2 separate regions of the Homo sapiens genome follow, and region 2 is linked to region 1. Evidence: promoter capture Hi-C in 16 types of primary human blood cells and fetal thymus (Javierre and others, 2016). All regions are on one chromosome and are shown on one strand. The core of a region is centred on a gene start or on the middle of the fragment in contact, and the rest is flanking DNA. Distances in the headings are between cores, read along the strand shown.

Region 1 (5,317 bases), core at 1,400-3,899:
CAAAGGTCACCTGGTGTAAACTTGGCTGCCCAGCTCTTTATGCACTCAGGGCAGCATGGGAGCCCTGTCGCCCCGCGCGCATCTACGGGCCTGGCAGCCGGGGACGCGGGGCAGGCGGGGAAAAGAGGGGTGCGCACCCCGCGGGCGCTGGCACCCCCCAGGTACCGCACACAGTAGTCCCTAGGAAGGAGGCTCACTTTGCGCGTTCTTGCCTCCTGGAGCAGGATGGGGGTGGGTGGAGCTGAGGCCGGGGCCTCCCCGCAGCTCTGGCCGCCGCCCCAGGCTTTCAGTAGCCTCCTCCCGCAGTCACTCATCTCCAGTAGTAGGAAAAAACGGAGGTCTTGATATGAAACTGGGGATGCAAGGAAGTACTTATATATCATGCAAATAGTCTTTCAGCACCATTGAAAAGTCTCAAGAATGTGGGTGAAAATCAGATTCACTCTGTCCACTTGAAAAAAATGAACTAACAGCCCTATAGACCAGTTTCACTTGGCCAGTATATTTTACCACCAATATAGGTCACTGTAAGCACTGCCAGCTAGTTTGAAAATAGGACTGGTGTGATTATCTGAAACTGATGTTGAATGGGTAAAGCCAAAAAAAAAAAAGATCTCTGGGCTTCAGCCCAGGAGTTGAAGATCAGCCTGGGCAACATAATGTGACCCCCATCTCTATCCAAAAGAAAAAAATAATTGCCGGGCATGTGGTTCCAGCTACTTGGGAGGCTGAGGTGGGAGGATCGCTTGAGTTTGGGAGGTGGAGGCTGCAGTGAGCTGTTACAGTGCCACTGACCTTCAGCCTTGGCAACAGAGGGAGACCCTGTCGCAGGAAAAAAGAAAAGAAAGAAAACAAAGGAAAGGAAAGGAAAACAAAGGAAAGGAAAGGAAAGGGAAAGGGAAGAAAAGGAAAAGAAAAAGAAAAGAAAAGAGAAAAATCCCTGTTTGGGATTTAGGCTACACTTAGGTAATAAGGATTAATTTAAAAAGCTAATATTCTGATCTTTATCAAACGGAAATTGTTCTTCTTTTCTACGTCTATATCGTGCCAGAAATATATTAATGTGTATTTTTTAAAGGTGATCTAAAGGAATGGTTAAATTCTGTTTCATGAATCATCAAAACTATTTGTTTTTACTTTAGAATTGATGCATTGCAGTTGTTTAGGAAATCATGCACACCCTGGATATGATATTTGTTAACGAGAAATACCTTGTATTCTGAACACACTGGAAATTGTTTCCTATGGCTGAGCATACCAATACTATACAATTTTATGGTGATGTTATTAGCATTGCTATTATGGCTCTGACTCGTAGAATCTTTCTTATCTGCAGTTTTGATTTGGATGTGCCAAGTCTGTTCAAAGGCTAATTAGAACTTCGTGTGCCTAGATGGATGAGTTAAAGAAAATTTCTAGCCTGTTTATTAGTACCACAGTTTATAAGCAACATTACAGGCCTTCCGTTTCATCATAGCTTTTCAATCTGCTGTACAAACATAAGACTCCGTTACTGTTAGCCTTTACCCTTTTGCTCAATGCGATGTCTGCTGCTTCTGTATACAGGCTCAAGTAATTCCCATTATGCCATGCCCTGTGTGCACCTTCTGGAAGTTAGCCCACGGACATCTAAGATCTGGGATATTTCCAAATCTGGTTGTGGAAGGGCTTGGAAATCTATAACCGCAACTAGGTGGAGGACACCTGTTTCAGCAGGAGGTTATAAAATATGAAGCGAAACTAGGAAGAGGGAGTTGTGATCACGGTTCCAAGGGCTCCACACAGATCCTGGAGTTAAGGGGCACTCAGGTCTCCATTTCGTGACCCCTGGCCCTACCTCTCCTAGATCCAGGTATTTAGTAACCCAGGCTTGAGATCTCAAACCCCATCCCCCAATGCCAAACTCCCTTGTCCCAGCTGGGAGGCCCCCAGGGCATTTCTGAACATGGCCATCTCCAATTCACAGAAATCTGTGTGTTGTTGCAAATAAAGGATGACAAGAGACCACAGCCTACGAATGCGAGCAGCGTCAAGTCAGCAACAATCTTCCAGTTATCGAGAAGTCGGAAACGTCTGATTCTTTCTTCTCCACATTTACTAAGACGTATCTTCTCACCTTCCTGCCCTCCACGTTAAGAGGGGCTAACTATTCCGAAAGACTTCCGTGCCCTCTTCCTTTTCAATTTTTCCACTTCCAAACTCCTACCGAAAGACGAAGAAAAGAGACCACAGAAGAAGATACAAAGAAGTTTCTTAAAACACCTTCTTTTCTAGGTTCTCAAGGCGTCCCCTTTAAGGAACCAGGCCCACCTCTTTCCCATTCACCTACTGGCTTTCCTTCCTGTCCGTCACTCTACCTTTAAGAATATTTCCTGTTTCTTCAACCCAACTTGCACACCTCCGCCCCCCGGCCCTCCTCATTGGGCCGCCCGATCCCCGTTCACTCCTTGGTTTCCTCTCCGCCTCCTCCCGCCCTCTAGCGTAGTGCAACGGCATTCTGTCTTCTTATTGGCTACCACGGCAGCGTTCCCGCAGCCTGATTGGCGGGTTGAGTGAAAGAGGCGGGAACGCGGCGCGCCCAGGGTAGGCTGTTCGCTTGCTGAGCTGCGGCCGCGGGAGGGGCGGGGAGGGGCGGGGGGAGGGGGGCTGGGAAAGTTGAGGCCGCGCTGCCGCCGGGTCTCCGGCCTTGAGGGCTCGGGCTCGCAGCGGCTGCGGTGGCCGCAAAAAGAGGCGGCGGGGGCGGGGGGAGAGGAGGGCCTGGGCCCGCGCTCCCCCAGCCCCGGAGGAGCAGGCGGTGGCCGCGGACGGAGAGATTCGCCCAGACGGTCAGACACTCCTGCCTTCCCCTCCTGGGATCATGACCCAGGCGGGGGTCGCCGCCGTCGCCGCCGCCACCGCGGCCGAGACCGCGCAGCCGGCGGGTAAGTGACTGCGGGAGGGGGCCGCTGACAGCCGGGGCGGGGGGCGGGGGCCAGGGCTGCGGGGGCGGCTCCGGAGGGCGGCCCCGGGCTCAGCTCCACCCACCCCCTTCCTGCTCCGGGAGGCCAGGGCTGCGCTAAGTGCGCCTCCTTCCTGGGGACCCTTGCGTGCGGCACCTGGTGGGGCGTCAGCGCCCGCGGCGAGCGCACCCCTCATCTCCCGCCCGCCCTGCGTCCCCGGCTGCCAGGCCCGTGGGGGGCTCGCACTGCGCCCCAGCTCCTAGATGCGCGCGGGGCGAGAGGGGCCCCACGCTGCCCTGGGTGCATAAAGAGCTGGGCAGCCAGGTTCACACCAGATGGCCTTTGCCCGCCTCCTTCACCTTTTCCTGTCTTCTTCATTCCCCTTCTTTCCTTGCCCTCTGAATTTCTTTCGTACCCGTTCGTCAGACTCATGTGGCTTGCTTTTTCCCTCTCACCCCTCTGTCGAAGTGTTAGGCTTGTGTTTTCTTTTTAGAAGCCGTTCTTTTGCTTTCTGAGTAGAAGCAGTGCAAGTGAATGACCAACTCTTGAAATCTACTTTCATGTATCCGGATGAAATATAAGATTCCTGGACTCTTGTTCATGTTTACAATTTTGATAGTTGAATTCACCCCACTCGTTCTTGAAGCTTGTCCTCCCAACCCTCCTCGTTACATTGGGATATGGTCCTTTGCGTTTATTAACTTTATCTGGAAATATGAGACTGCATAAACCAAAGTGCAGAATTTCAACTTCCGTTCTTGTAACATTTTTACCATCAAGTAGATACAGTAACCTAACACCACACAGATCAAGACAGTCGTGGCCAACTGTGTAGGCAAAGAAGACATTTCCTTACCTATAAACAACGTACAGATTTCTTGAATAAATCTTACGGTGAGTTACATGGATCCTGAAACATATTCCCAGGTTTGCTCTTTTGTAAAGAAAACCAAACAGACAAACCTGCCTTTTGAAGGATCAACAGGCTGTCCTACTCTCCATTCACCTTGATGACTTTTTTCTCTCCCATAGAACTCTTGTTTAACATAGTACAGAGTTGCTGTTTGGGATACATGTGTTGTTTCTCTTTAAGTACTCAAAGTATTTGTTACAAAAGAAGTAAAATACATTGTAATTGCACTTCTGAAAGCAGAAGTAGTGTAATGTATCCATGCAAGAATGAATGCTTAATCCTAAAGCAGTTTTGCTTTAGCCTAAGCCAAGCTTTTCCAACCCCCGTCCAAGGACGGCTTTTAATGCGGCCCAAGACAAGAAGACAAGTTCGTAAACTTTCTTTTATTTTTTTTGAGACAGAGTCTCACTCTGTCGCCCAGGCTGGAATGCAGTGGTGTTATCTCAGTTCACTGCAACCTCCGCCTCCTGGGTTCAAGCAATTCTCCTGCATCAGCCTCCTGAGTAGCTGGGATTACAGGTGCATGCCACCAGCCCAGCTAATTTTTATTTCTTTAAGTAGAGACAGGGTTTCTCCATGTTGGCCAGGCTGGTCTTGCACTCCTGACCTCAGGTGATCCGCCTGCCTCTGTTTCCGAAAGTGCTGGGATTACAGGCATGAGCCGCTGCGCCCGGCCTCAAATTTGTAAACTTTTTAAAACATTATGAGATGTTTGTGTGTGATATTTATTTACTTATTTATTTAAGCTCATCAGCTATCGTTAGTGTTAGTGTATTTGATGGGTGGCCCAAGACATTTCTTCTTCCTGTGTGCCCCAGGGAGGTCAAAAGATTGGACACTCCTGGTCTAAGCTAAAAGACTTAGGTGTACATAGGTATTGGGATCTCCCTGTATTTAGGAGTTTTGCAAAATCTGGATGCAGCCTAGAACATTCGCTGATATAAAAGGAGTGCATTGCAGGGATGTAAGAGCAGCTTAGAATTGAAGTACTTATCTTCTAGGTTAGTCGTCTATGGAACATCGTGGAAGTAAAATTCTAAGGTTGTAGACCTTACACTCAATGAACCAGTCATGTATGAGAAATTGATGGGTACTTTTCCTATTTTCAGAGCTTAGCCTTGTCAACAAGGGAAAAGAAACACTAAGAAAACTGAGAATTTTTAACTCAGGTTAGAATACAAGCTTCAACAGGTAATCAGCTCAAGTTTGTTGCTTATAAACAGGGTCTTAAATCAAGCTTGAGCCTTAATCATATCTGTCATGCTTTACCTCTCTGTTCTCTAGTCCAGTAGTTCTCAATCCAGACTGTACATGAGCATCACCTTGTGTGTCTTTAAGTTTTAATGCCCAGGCCACTTCCCTCAGAAACTCTCTTATTTTTGATCTGGAGTAAAGCTCTGCCATGGGCATATTTTTTAAAGCTCTCCAGGTGATTCTGTTCAGTAGCCCTGGCTGAGAACTCCCA
Region 2 (4,944 bases), core at 2,436-4,935, 200 kb after region 1:
AATCGAAGAATAGAGCATTAGTACACTGGGAACTCCAAGAAAAAGCTTTGAAGAGAAAATGGAGGAAGCAGAAACCAGAAACTTTAAATCTTGAGAAAAGAAGATTGTCTATCATGAAGGAGGTAATGCTAAACTGCATTAGAGTTAGAAAGAAAAAAAGGAGATAAATAGGGTTCTTTGTTTTTCTTCAATTTGATTCACGTTGGAGAGACTCTAGTAATCACTGCATTCTTATTCAATAATCTACATGTGGACTTCAAAAAAAGCAACAGAGTGGTGACTGGAGTCTGGTTTGGTGGTTTGAATTCCTGTTCTACTACTTACCAGCTGTGTGACCCTAAGTAAATTATTTAACTTTTCAGCCTGAATTTTCTCATATTTAAAATTATTATTTGCTTGTATTGCTATGAGATTTCAGTGATATAATACTTACAAAGTGAATAGCACAATCTTTGCTTATTCCTCTTTTTGTATATAAGCTGCTATAATAATTTTTCTCAGTAAAGTGATTAGCACAATCTTTTCTTATTCCTCTTTTTATATATAAGCTGCTATAATTATTTTTCTCAGTTTAACAGCAGTGCTGTTAGGTTACTTTGAAAAAAAAATGATGTTGTATGCTTGTCCAACTGAGTAATAAGCAACTTGTCTTTGGCTTAACCTTTTGCCAGACGTGGGGTGTTCAGATAAGTAATCAGATATGTAGGGATAAACAATATGGGAAATAAGAGGAAACTACAGCAAATAACCTTTTTAAATTTGAGCTGAAGTCATTGTGAAGGAATGTGCTTTGTCTGTAGTGTTGCTCCTTGTTCATATTGAAGCTTATGTACAGCACTTAGCTGTCTGACCTTTCACGGCAGCTTTGAATCATACATTTTCTTTTGAGGAATTTGTTAGGCTTCTTATTGAAATAAAGTCTCAGTCTTAGACATCATCAGGAAGAATAATATCTCCCAAATAAATGTTTACATGAGCTTGAGAAAAGAACAGTGGCTTGATTGAGAGAATGCTTCTTTACAGGTAAGTATCTTTTGGTGATCTTGGACAAGTCGCATACATTTAAATGTTATGGGGTAATTCTCAGTGAAAGGCCTAAAAACACAGATCTCACCACGAAAAAAGGCAGCCTGCTTGGATTGCATCAGACTCTGGGCTTATTTTCCTTTCTCTAGTGGTTCCTGCTCATGTCCTGAATTTCTCATACAAGTTATAGATGTGGTAGAAGTAGGTGTTTAAAGAAGGGTGGTGAGAGACGATGAGTGATGTTTCTTTGCCTTCTTTTTGTAGATCTGCTGCCTCAGGCACTAGTATAGTGGTTCTCAACTCTCACTGCACATTAGAATCAGTCAGGGTCAAGAAGCTCCATTAAAAAAATATATAACAGCTGGGTGTGGCAGCTCATGCCTGTAATCCCAGCATTTTGGGAGGCCAAGGCGGGCAGATCACCTGAGGTCAGGAGTTCAAGACCAGCCTGGCCAACATGGTGAAACCCCATCTCTACAAAAATACAGAAATTAGCTGAGCATGATGGCGGGTGCCTGTAATCCCAGCTACTTGGGAGGCTGAGGTGGGAGAATTGCTTGAACCTGGGAGGCGGAGGTTGCAGTGAGCCGAGATTGGTCCATTGCACTCCAGCCTGTCTCAAAAACAACAACAGCAAAACCAAAAAAAAAAAAAAGCCCTAAAGATTAGCTGGGTACAGTGGCAGGTGCCTGTAGTCCCAGCTACTCAGGAGGCTGAGGCAGGAGAATCGCTTGAATCCGGGTTGCAGTGAGCTGAGATTGTGCCACTGCACTCCAGCCTGGGCAACAGAGTGAGACTCTGTCTCAAAAAAAAAAAAAAAAAAAAAAGCTCTCTTTCTCTCTCTCTCTCTCTATGTATGTATGCATATATATATAACTATATCTGGACTCTATACCCAGAGATTCAGATTTAGTTGACCTAGGATGTGGCCCCATGTAGGTGTTTTTTAGACAGTTCCTATGTAATTTGAATGTGCTGCAGGGGTTGAGCACCTCAGCTCTCATCAGGATTCAGGTATTTTCTCTCTACCAGCATATCTTGGGATAATTTCCTGTCAGTGCTTAGACATCTACCTTTTCTTTTTGATGGCCATTAGCATATAGATGTACCACAATTTATTTATCCTGTGCTTTATTGGTGAACACTTAGGTTGTGTGTTAGAGTATAGTTTAAGCTTCTGGAAATAAAAAAATACCCTCCTATATGTTTTGCTTTAAACAAACAAATTTGTTTCTGTTTATTAAACAGTTGAGAGGAAAGTGGTAGCTGGTAGGGAACTCTGCAGTCCTTTATTACACAGCTTCTGTCTCTGAATACAAAATGGCCATAGCAGCTTCATTCAGCTATATGCCAGCCAGCAGGAAACAGGAAGAACAGTGCATGCTACTCCTATTACATGTCACCCAGAAGTTCTGGCATATATCCTGTTGGCCAGAAAGTCATCACATGGCCATTCCCACTTACAAAGATGGTTGGGAAATCTAGCTATGTAATTGGCTAAAATGCAGGAGTTCTGCTGTTAAAGGAGAAACCAAAAGAACATTGCTGGATACTTAAGTAGTACTGTCAGTTACCCACAGATTGTCTTCTACCTTGCTACTATCAATAATGTAATAAATATCCTTGAAAATGTTTTTGGGTACACATGTAAGTATATTTTCAGGATAAATTCTTAAAAGTAGAATTGCTTAGTCAATGGATATGTGCATCTTTTATTTCAATGTTGGTAAATTTGCAACGTCTCTGTTTAAGGGATGCAGTGGACCAAAGGAAGAAGCCTCCTTAGACATATTCACATAAGCTTCATCATTATGTATTAAAGCTAACAGGACCCATCCACCTGAAGCTGGACTCCCAGATTAACATAAATTAAGAGAAAGCTCTTTGGCCAGCATAATCTTAGATTTCATTTGCTGTAAGATGTACCCATGCCATGGGAATCAAGCAAATTAGGGTTCCCTCTCACTCATGGAGAGGCTTTCAAAAAGATCTTATAAATCCCCAAAATGTAATAACTCCTAAAGCCTCTTTGTAATTTCCCAATTCTACCTCATGTCTTTTACTGTGGTACAAAAGGGCTAAGATGACGAGTTTCTGATAATGTCTTTTTTTTTGTAGAGACTGGGATCCTTTGAAAATCCAACATGTGTACCACCACTTACAGGTTTAAGTTTGTGCTCTGCAAACTCATTTGAGGAGTAATAGATAGAGTTAGGCTTGTAGAGATCAGTTTACCTGTCAAATGGATGGGCTTTATGAGAGGAGTTATAAATCTAGAAAGAAGAAGTAAAAGCCAATACACTGATCTTTGATCACTCAAACCATTTTTCCCAAGGGCAGGGACTAAACAGGGGTTTCCAGTCTTTTGGCTTCCCTGGGGCACATTGGAAGAAGAAGAATTGTCTTGGGCCACACATAAAATAAACTAACATTAATGATAGCTGATGAGCTAAAAAAAAAAAAAAAAAAAAAAAAGTTGTAAAAAAAAAATCTCATAATGTTTTAAGAAAGTTTACAAATTTGTGTTAGGCCACATTCAAAGCCATCCTGAGCCACAGGTTGGACAAGCTTGGACTAGCAGAAGGTGACAGATAATGGTTTTTACATGAGACCTCATTATAATCAATATCAGGTCTCAATATGGTTATAAGATTATAATCTTCATGTGTCAATTCCATCTCTTTATTTTGATAGGTCAATGCTTTTAAAAAATAGTAAACTCTTAAAATTATTATTAGGAAATAAGCTTTGTGTAATTTTTCTGGTATAGTGAAAGATTATACTCATTCATTCACATTCTTTCCTAAGCTCATAATTCCTTGTACTTGCAAGACGGCTAAGTAAGAATAGAAATTTGGTTTGTGGGATAATATAATTTAAGTTATAGCAAAATTCTGAAACATCTCTAGAGTGGTATATAGGTTTTCAGTGTTTCCATATCCATCTACCACCCCTGTGGGGCTGGGGAAGGGTTGTTGACTGGGACTGGACTCTCAGTCTTCTGGGTCTGATGTGCTCTTGACCTGATACCATTCCAAAGCTTACTCTTTGTAGAAGGAATAAATTCAGGGCTTTCTTCTCACTGAGTCAGCCAACCTGCTTGGCTATAGCCGGGGAAGAAGGGGAAAAATTAAGAATGTGACTCTTGCTATTTTTCTTTCTGTGTCTTAAAACAATAACTGAGGTCACATTGTGTATGTATTTGATTCTGTAGTATAGAGAAATTCTGGTAAGAGTATTTGTTATCAGATATTTTATCAATTTGAGTCAAGTGTTGGAAACTGAGCAGTTTCCAGGTACTTTTTAACTTGAGAATGCCATCTGGTGGTGGTGCCGAGAGAATTATCTGGCTTTTACTCTAGCCTGTGGCCTTACTTTTAATTATGAAAGTTCCTAAGTTGAAAGTGCATAATCCAGAGGCACTACTGTAATGTTACTTTTTGTGTTCTTACCTCTCCAGGGTAAAAAACTGATTTGTTTTTAAACACAGAGGCCTCACATTTTTTGTTTAATGCTAAAACTCATATCTTATGTCATGTTTTTAAAGTTGTAGGTCATGACTTGACACATTAGTGGATTACATTAGTGGATTCTGAATTCACTCTAGTGGTTGAAACACCTCTAAGTTTATGGCTCAAAGATTCATATCTTTCATCTGTGTTTTTCAAACTATGGATTATAATTTGTTAATGAATTGTGAAGTGAGTTGCTGCCAACATTTAAAAAATAGAATAGAAATTAACAAGAAAATATCAGTGGTTCTCATGGAGCAAGGTTAATTAAAACTTTTATTTTAATTAACTTTTTATTTAATTAAAACTTTTATTTTGTATATGTGTATGTAAATGTGGTGGGTCACAATTGTGAATATTTCTTTTTTTTTTTTTTGAGACGGAGTCTCGCTCTGTCGCCCAGGCT

What was found. The method cuts DNA at HindIII sites, captures the fragments that hold promoters and counts their contacts. A CHiCAGO score of 5 or more calls a contact.
Region 2: a contact is called between a fragment that was not itself captured here and the fragment with the promoter of USF3 in region 1, in 4 of 17 cell types (fetal thymus, megakaryocytes, naive B cells and 1 more). The highest score is 8.5, in fetal thymus.

The regions. Positions count from the first base shown.
Region 1 is chr3:113,693,974-113,699,290 of GRCh38, reverse strand. USF3 (upstream transcription factor family member 3) reads left to right here and starts at 2,649. Exons shown (of 7, transcript NM_001009899.4): 1 at 2,649-2,921. RefSeq lists silencers at 2,439-2,908, 2,929-3,318. The HindIII fragment of the contact is 8,785 bases long and covers 1-3,587 here.
Region 2 is chr3:113,494,617-113,499,560 of GRCh38, reverse strand. SPICE1 (spindle and centriole associated protein 1) reads left to right here. Exons shown (of 18, transcript NM_144718.4): 4 at 1-122. SPICE1-CFAP44 (SPICE1-CFAP44 readthrough (NMD candidate)) reads left to right here. Exons shown (of 52, transcript NR_183050.1): 4 at 1-122. Among named protein-coding and RNA genes, the nearest start is that of SPICE1, 18 kb to the left of the region's middle. The HindIII fragment of the contact is 178 bases long and covers 3,597-3,774 here.